Linked DNA regions of Homo sapiens: region 2 is linked to region 1. Evidence: promoter capture Hi-C in human tissues and cell types (Jung and others, 2019). All regions are on one chromosome and are shown on one strand. Each heading gives the region's core, a stretch centred on a gene start or on the middle of the fragment in contact. The rest is flanking DNA. Distances are from core to core; before and after follow the strand shown.

Evidence for each region. Contacts are between HindIII fragments. The study calls those that stand out against the background at their distance.
Region 2: a contact is called between the fragment with the promoter of VPS4A here and the fragment with the promoter of LCAT in region 1, in 1 of the 25 tissues and cell types used here (dorsolateral prefrontal cortex).

The regions. Positions count from the first base shown.
Region 1 is chr16:67,942,870-67,947,280 of GRCh38, forward strand. It overlaps LCAT (lecithin-cholesterol acyltransferase), which reads right to left and starts at 1,251. Exons shown (of 6, transcript NM_000229.2): 1 at 1,079-1,251; 2 at 187-343; 3 at 1-107. The coding sequence starts at 1,232. SLC12A4 (solute carrier family 12 member 4) reads right to left here. Exons shown (of 24, transcript NM_005072.5): 17 at 4,068-4,236; 18 at 3,569-3,764; 19 at 3,302-3,471; 20 at 3,082-3,213; 21 at 2,895-3,002; 22 at 2,500-2,684; 23 at 2,218-2,351; 24 at 605-2,062. The coding sequence ends at 1,971. RefSeq lists an enhancer at 1-382. The HindIII fragment of the contact is 35,269 bases long and covers 1-4,411 here.
Region 2 is chr16:69,309,192-69,313,602 of GRCh38, forward strand. It overlaps VPS4A (vacuolar protein sorting 4 homolog A), which reads left to right and starts at 2,159. Exons shown (of 11, transcript NM_013245.3): 1 at 2,159-2,341. The coding sequence starts at 2,321. RefSeq lists enhancers at 1,031-1,981, 1,982-2,931 and silencers at 1,874-2,013, 2,074-2,623. The HindIII fragment of the contact is 10,929 bases long and covers 1-4,411 here.

The DNA.
Region 1 (4,411 bases), core at 1-2,500:
TGCTGCTGTCCAGGTACTCCACAGAGTAGGTCTTGCCAAAGCCAGGGACGCGGATCTGGACACCAGGGGCGTTGGACACGAGCCCAGAGCTCCGGTTGTAGACAACCCTGCGGGGCGGGGGTGCCACTCAGCAGCCAGTAGCCAAGGGGCAGCGTGTTGGGGCTAGGGTGGAGCACATGGCTGTACCTGGTGTTATCGATCCAGCAGTCTACCCCAAGGGGTAGGAACATGTTGAGATCCAGCCAGATGGTGAAGAAGTCCTCTGTCTTGCGGTAGCACATCCAGTTCACCACATCTGGTTTGTCCAGCTTGGCTTCTAGCTGATTCCCCAGGCAGCCGGGCACTGTGAGCAGCAGCCCTCACTCTGGACTCTGGATTCCCCCCGTGACCCTTACCCCCGTCACCCCAGATGCTGCAGTGACCAGACCCACCCCCCACCTCCCATACCCTCAACCCCCAGGTACAAAGCACACTTACCCTCCCCTGCTTACACCCCCTCTCCCTGCTGTCCCCCCAGTAGCCAAAGCCCAGGCTTCCCTGAGGAAGGGAAGGCGCTGAGGTGCTGAGGCCAAGGCCGCTGACCCCTGCCTCTGCAGAGCAAACACCCAGTCTGGCGCTCCTTTATTGCCAAAGTCCAAGGTGGGAACAGATAGGTCTGGGGGCATGGGGGCTGGGCCTAATAGGGGCCGGGCATGGATGGGCCTCTCCTGCTCACCGATCCTGGGCTGGGCATCTTGTCCTTGGTGGGTGGGGGCCAAGGAAGGAGTGGTGGGGCTTGGCCCAGAGTCTGGTGTGGCTGTGACTGACCACAGCTTGTGATGCCCCAGCCAAGACCTCAGGCACACCCCGTCCCCCACTCCGCCCCCCCTGGGTTAGACAACTGAGAGTCACAGTGTGGTGGGAGAAGGGACGTCATTCCTCTAAGGGACAAGCTTTTGGCCCCTCCCCACACCAGGGCAGGTACTTATGTCGGGGCTTATGCAGGGCAGAAGGGCTTTGGCCAGGTCAGCTGCCAGGGGCTGGGGCCCAGGCTCCCCAGGGTCTGGCGTGGTGCATCAGGGGCCTGGTGGGGGCTTACCGAGGATGACGGGCCGTGTGTGGTTACTGAGCTCAGCCTTGGGCGTGGTGTGCGGGGGGAAGAGCACATTGAGGAGCCAGAAGGGGGCGGCAGGAGGGAGCAGCAGCCCCAGCAGCAGCGTCACCCACTGCCATGGGGAGCCGGGCGGCCCCATTCCAGCCCTGGTGCCTACTGCCAGAGAAAGCGGCACTGGGCTGTCCTTATCTGGTGTGGGAGTGGGAGGGGCCCTAGGGCCAGTGGGAGGGACGGCCTGGCCAGTGGGGGTTGTGGCCAGAGATTGCCGGAAAGGGGCACAGCCTCAGGGAGCCGGCTCTGGGCCTGGGTTCAGTTCCGCCTTCTTCTCTTGGCGCCAGGGGAAACAGAGCCGGGGCAGCAGGAGGCCCAGAACTACACAATGTTTTATTGAAAAAGTCAGGCCTCAGCTCAGCTGTCTCCATTCGGCTCAGCTTGGTGGGGGGCCCTGCCCATAGTAGACTGAGCCAGATCTTCCTGCAGGCAGCTGGGCTGGACTCCCTCCCTGGCTACCCTTCCCTTCGTCTCTGATGGTGACATCCAAACAATAAATATGCAATAAATAGCGCTCCTGGGCTGGGCCGGGCCGGCTGCCTTCAAACCCCACTCGGCCCCTACCAGTCTTCTCTGGCCAGGACAGGCCTACTGGGGTGCTAGATAGTAAAGTCCCCAAACATCCCAGGGTCCCACAAGACCTGGGATCCATCTCCATTTTGAGGCCCAGGCCTGGTTTCCAAGGAGACCTAGCAAAGCTGGGTCCAGGACAGGGCCAGGCAAGCAGGGCTGGCAGGTGGGTGCTGGGAAGAGGCTGTTACCCCAGACCACAGCTTGTTATGTCCTGGCCAAGACCTCGACTCCAGGCCACAAGATGACACTGGGCTCAGGAGTAGATGGTGATGACTTCACGGCCACCACCGCGCACCAACAGCACCCGCTCAAGGCCCTCGGTCAGCACCTCGAGGAACTCCATGTCTGCAGGGCCTCAAGTCAAGGAGGCAACAACAGAATCAACGGGCAACCCGGGCCACCTGGGCCATGCCCACCCAGGGGTGCCCAGGAGAGAAGCCGCTGGCTTGACCTCCCATGCTATCCACCTCCCAACTGCCTGCCTCTCCACAAAGGGATACAGTTCTCGTCGCCCTCACTGTTCCTGGGTGGGCCAGGCATGTTTAGGAGAACCAGGCGGGCGTCGTGGGAGCGCGTGACAATGACTTCATTGAGCTTCACAGCAGTGTGCATGCGCCGCACATTGGATTGGTCCCTACACGTAGTGTAGCCAGTCACAGGTCGCCATGAGCCATCCTGCAAGGAGGGTCCCCACCCCTGGCCCATCTAACACTACTTGTCTGCCCCACCCCACCTCCACCCCTAGATTCCAGTGCCGCTGGGGCTGTTTTTGCTGCACTCACGGCTTAATGTGCACCAGCTCCCGGAAATTGTCAGGGGCATGGCTGGGGTCCCAGGTCTCAGTCATGTACTTGTCCCTGGTCCACGTCATCTGGATCTTGTCAGCCCCCACTGCAGACTCATCTTCCTCGTCCGAGTACAGGCTCTCCAGCCGCAGGGCCGAGTGCCGATCCTTGACCAGCTGGGCCTGAGGACAATTGCAGGAGATAGCCTTGGTCCCATAGGAAAAGGGGGATGGGGCCTGTCTGGCCCAATGTGACCACCTTGCCTCCGGGAAATGAGCACTAGCTTGGGTAGGGCTGCGGTGAGTCATTCTGATTCCTCCGCACCCACCGATGCGGTCTCCAAAGGCCTGACCCTGCCACCCGCCCTGGCGTGAACCACAAAGGGCACTGACTTCTCGCTCCCGCTCAGTCTTGGTCAGTCTCATCTGCCGCAGCATCTGCGACCGCTGCTCCATCATCAGCGTCCGCTCGTAGGTGTATGCAGAGATGTCACTGTTATGCTGGGGACAGGGTTGGCCGTGAGGACCCAGCTGCACGGGACATGGTATCCACGGGGCCAGGGCAGGGCAGAGGGCTCACCATCTCCACCACCTCCACCTCGGCCTCAAGGCGCAGATGGTACAGAAAGACAGCCAGGTCCTTCTTCATCTGGATGCTGTTGTCATCCATCTGGGCCACTGTGAAGATGCGCATCCGGCACTTCCTCCAGACCTGAGGCAAGGGACCAGGTGGGCGGTTTGGTCACAGCTGCTCCTCCAAGGGCCTAGCCCCTCTCATCTGCACCCACCCCCTGGTCTACCTTATGCTGGCGCAGCAGGAAGGGCAGAAGCATGAGCATGCCACCATCGTGCACGATCCACCACACGTCTATGTGGCCCTCCAGGTAGCGCTCGTGGTTGCTGGGGTAGAAGGCGATGTTCTTGGGCACGAGCAGGGCCAGGTGGGCAGCCGTAGTGCAGCGCACGGTGTCTGGGGAGGAGGAGCACGGCTGACCACCAGTCTGTGGCCCTCCGCCCACTGCCACCTCACTTCACCCCTGCCCACCAGGCCCCAGGCCTTCACACACCAATGAAGGTCTTCCAGGCACGGGGGTCCTCGCTCTGTCGCCAGCCGTAGGGCCAGCCCAGCACCACGGAGTTATGCCGCATGCCTCCCAGGCCACAGGACTGGATGAGGTGGGCCAGCCCCTCCCGCACCTTGCTGGCCACCACCACCTGGCAGAAGCCCTTCACCTTCTCAATTTCCATCATGTTCTTGATGGTCTGTGGGGAACACACCCAGGGCCAATGGGAGGCCATCAGCTTCCTGCCTCTGGGCTCCCTCCCAAGGCCCCTCGGGAACAAAACGACTTTTGGGTGGAGGAGGGCCTGGGGGCAACAAGCTGCCTACCCAGAGGCCAAGTTTTCAAGATGGGACTGCTGGCTCCCCCTTGTGCCAGCTCTCAGGTGGCAGCAGTGCTGGCTGCCTGGCTGGCCACCCTGGCCAAGACTGGGCCCTCCCCTCCGTGCCAGCTGCAGTCCAGACCCCTGTAGTCTGGCTCAGCTCTCCCTCCCCAAAGCAAGTACCTGCTCGGCGGCCTGAGCCTCGCCATAGCTCTCCAAGAAGCTCCCCTGGATGACAGAACCAACAATGGTCAGGCCCTTGCCAGCCTTGAGCTGGGAGGCGAAGGTGAGGAGCCGCGGGTACTTCACGTGGAGGTCCTCGTCCAGCTTCAGCAGCACCAGCAGCTGCGGCCTGCAGTGGCCGGGTGGGGGGAGCCTGAGACCAGGGCCGGCCGTTCTAGGGAGCCCCTCCTCTTCTTCCCTTCTCGGGTCGTGGTCCCTGCAGGTTTGGGTAGCATGGCCCAGGAGGGTGCCCCGGGCAGCCCCAGGATGGGGAGCCGGCACCTCTCGACCCTCTGACCCCGACA
Region 2 (4,411 bases), core at 909-3,408, 1.4 Mb after region 1:
TCTTTCTCTAATATGATTCTCTAGCACCCTTAAATTCTCTAGTGAGGACCTCCAAAACATAAGGACAGTCCTTGCATTGCCACCATAAAGTCCTCCTAATCAAGAAATCAACATTGGCACACCACCACTCATTCCATAGACCCCATTCAAATGATGCCAGCCATCCCGGCCATGTCCTGTTTTCCTCTCTGGCCTTGGATCCTGGCCAATACCACTTTCTTGCCTTTTGTCGTCGTGTCTCAGTTCTTCAGTCTGGAATGTTCCTCGGCCTTACTCTAATTCGCATGTGCCTGAGTCTCAGCACAAGGCTTTGATTGTTCAGCACAGCTCTCCAGCTGGCTCTATTCGGTGTTGCCTCACAACCAGGCTGTGTCACACACTCTTGGCAGAGATGCCACGATGCCATGCTCTCTTCAGGGTATCATGTGGAGAGACACACGAGGGCCACGCATCCCACCACCAGGGGTGTTCCCTTCGGTCGCGTAGTCAAGCTAATGTCCTCATTGTTTTCTCCTTTGTATTTATTTATTTATTTAGAGATGGAGTTCCGCTCTTGTCGCCCAGGCTGGAGTGCAATGGCGTGGTCTTGGCTCACTGCAACCTCCGCCTCCCAGGTTCAAGCGATTCTCCTGTCTCAGCCTCCCAAGTAGCTGGGATTACAGGTGCCCACCACCATGGCCGGCGAATATTTTGTATTTTTAGTAGAGACAGGGTTTCACCATGTTGGCCAGGCTGGTCTTGAACTCCTGACCTCAAGTGATCCACCTGCCTCGGCCTCCCAAAGTACTGGGATTATAGGCGTGAGCCACCGCGCCCGGCCTCTCCTTTGTATTTAATTAGCATTTTGTGAAGAGAGATTAAGGTGTGCCAATTTTTTGGTTTTTTTTTTTTTTTTTTTTTTTTTTTTTTTTTTTTTTTTTTGGAGGCAGGGTCTTGCTTCATTTCCCAGGGTGGAGTACAATGGCCTGGTCACGGCTCACTACAGCCTCGACCTCCCAGGCTCCAGCAATTCTCCCAACTCAGCTTACGGAGTAGCTGGGACTACAGGTGTGCGCCACCATGCCCAGATACGTTTTTTATTTTTTGTAGCGATGGGGGTTCACCTGTTGCCGAGGCTGTTCTCGAATTCCTCGGCCCAAGCAATCGGCCTGCCTCGGCTTCCCAAAGTGTTGGGATTACAGGCATGAGCCCCCATACCCAGCCTCAACTTGGATGTTTTTTGCCCTCCATTTTTTTTCTCTCACAGGATAGACTTGTGGACAAATGGATCACTTGCCTCTGGTGCGTTTTTTTGTTTGTTTGTTTTGTTTTGTTTCTTAATTTAGCGACGAGGTCTTACTATGTTGCCCAAGCTGGTCTTGATCCTCGGCTCAAGCAATCCTCCTGCCTTGGCCTCCCAAAGTGCTGGAATTACAGGCGTGGGCCAGTACACCCAGCCCTAGAACTGCTTTGATCATTGTATCCCCAGAAACTAGCACACAACGCTGCACACAGTAGGTGTGCATGCCTGTAATCCCAGCTACTCGGGAGGCTGAAGCAGGAGAATCGCTTGAACCCGGGAGGCGGAGGTCGCAATGAGCCGAGATCATGCCACTGCACTCCAGCCTAGGCGACAGAGCAAGACTCCGTATCAATCAATCAGTCAATCAATCCAAGCAAAACAAAACTGGCTTTGAACAGTCAGCGGCATCCCACCAGGGATTGAGCCCCAGTGTGGGGCACACTCTGTTTACATTAGCTAGCTCATTTATTCCCCACAAAAGCCAGACAAGGCAGGTACTAATTATGATCGTGCGATATTAAACATGGAGAAACCAACGCTCTGATAAGTTCGTTTTATTGTGAGAATAAAACTGCTCAATGGGCGCTGTTATTCCAAGCGAGGTCAGGATTTCCGGATTCTACCCCGCTCCGCCCCTGGCCCCGCCCCGAGAATGTACGTCCCGCCAGGCCCCGCCCCGGCCTTGTCCCACCCACCCCGTCCCCGCCCCCTGTCCGTCTCGCCCTAGTCCCACCTCCTCGTCCCCAGTCAGTCCTGCCTCTCGAACCGCCCCCTGCCTTCGCCGAGGCAGGGAGAGGTGCCTGCAGTGCGAGCCGTGGACGCTAGGGGGCAGCCGCTCGGCTCGGGCCCGACCGCTCTGGGCTGCGCTCCTCGCTTGCCCTCGGACTCGGCTCCCGCTGCGAGCGGCCGCCCTGCCCGCGCACCGCGCTCAGCGCCCACCGCCGGGCTTCCCGCGCCGGACCCAGTACCTCGGCTCCCCGGGGCCGGACCGAGGCCGCAAGCAGCGCCGCGGGGTGTGGGGCGGACCCAGGAGATGAAATGACAACGTCAACCCTCCAGGTACTTCGTGCGGCCCGGCCCGACTTCGGAGGCCGAAGGCAGCGGGGCCTGCGGGCCGCAGAGCCGGGCGGCGGGCGGGTGGTCAGGTGGGCGCCTCCCAGCCCCGGCCTCGCGACCCCGCTCCGGCCGCCCCCTCGCCGCTTCCGCCCGTGTCTGTTTCCACGCGCTCGGAGCCGGGTGGCATCTCCACCCTCAGGCCTTCCGGCCCTGCCCGGCTGGCCCAGCCCCAGGGCCGCTTCGTGTAGCCGGCGCCCCGGTACCGCCGTGGGGATCAGCCTCACCCGAGCCGCACAGGCACCCTCAGGAAGCTCGGCCCGGGGTCCGGCTGGGCGTTCAGACAGCGATGCTCGCTCCCTCCTCTCCTGTCTCGCTCCCTCCTCTCCTGTCCCGGGTCCTGGAAGTCCCTCGACCTCACTTCGAACAAGCCCCGGCCCCTTCCCCAATCTTCGACTTCCTCTTCTCGGCCAGCGACCCTTCATTCATTCCCTAGATCCTGCAGGGTGGTGCTGGGATGGCGCCACCTGGGTGAACAACTGACCCACCCTCTAGGTGCTGTCAGTCCTGCGGGGCCAGAAGAGATCAACATGCTCAGGCCTCATTCCGGGGTTTGAATCTCAGCTCTGCCACTCACCAGCAAGTGACCTTGGGCTAGTTTTTTTTTTTCATCTTCGGGTCTCGAGTTTCCTGGTCTGTAAAATGGGGTAATGCCCTCTAGGTTGTTGTGATGATAGCTTTAAATTGAATAATTACGGTAAAGCATTCTTGTATGTCTGGCACATAGTAGGTGTCCATTAAGTGACAGCCAACAAAGTGCCTGGGAGAGTTAGGCAAGACTTCATGGAAGAAGGGACATCAGAGTTCCAGTAGCATTCAGAGACCTGGAGGTGGAGGAGGGCAGAAGTAGGAGCAGACATGGAATGAGTTGGGGTACCAGGTTAGGAATTAAGAGTCCATAGCCAGATCCCACCGTACCACCAGCAGAAGCCGCAGATCCCGTCTGCCCAGGCAGGTTTTTTATGGCCCGTGAACCGAGAATGTTTTTCAGTTTCAAACACAGGTGTATTTATTTATTTTTAAATTTTATTTATTTATTTTTTTGAGATGGAGTCTCACTCTGTCACCCAGACTGGAGTGCAGTGGTGTGATCTTGGCTCACTGCAGCCTCTGCCTCTCAGGTTCAAGCGATTCTCCTGCCTCAGCCTCCTGAGTAGCTGGGATTACGGGCACCCGCAACCACGCCCGGCTAATTTTTGTATTTTTAGTAGAGACCGGGTTTCACCGTGTTGGCCAGGCTGGTCTCGAACTCCCGACCTCAGATGATCTGCCCACTTCGGCCTCCCAGAGTGCTGGGATTACAGGTGTGAGCCACGGGTCTGGCCTAAACACAGCTTTATTAAGGTATAACTTGCGTGCTTACCATATAACTCACCCGTTATATATTTTTGTTTTTATTAATTTTTTTTTTTGAGACAGTCTCATTCTGTCACCCAGGCTGGAGTGCAGTGGCACAATCTCAACTCATTGCGGCCTCCGCCTCCTGGGTTCAAGTGATTCTCCTGCCTCAGCCTCCCAAGTAGCTGGGATTACAGGCACCTCCCATCACACCCAGCTAATATTTTTTTGTATTTTTAGTAGAGACGGGGTTTCACCATGTTGGCCAGGCTGGTTTCGAACTCCTGACTTCAAGTGTGATCTGCCCACCTCGGCCGCCCAAAGTGCTGGGATTACAGATGTGAGCCACTGTGCCCAGCGCAACTCACCCATTTAAAGTGTATAATTCAGTGCTTTTAGTATATTCATGGTTGTGTGACCATCACCATAATCACTTTTTAGAATATTTTCATCACCTCCAAAAGAAACCCCTCACCCACAACCCCTCTCTCTCCCAGCCCTGGGCAACCACTGCTAATCTACTTTTTTTCTCTGTGGGTTTGCCTACAGAGAAACCCACTTTATATAAACAGAGTCATACAATAGGTGGTCCTTTGTGGCTAGCTTCTTTCATTATGACTTAACATAATGTCATAGGTTTTTACATTTTTTAAATGGCTTGAAAAACAGTATTTCATG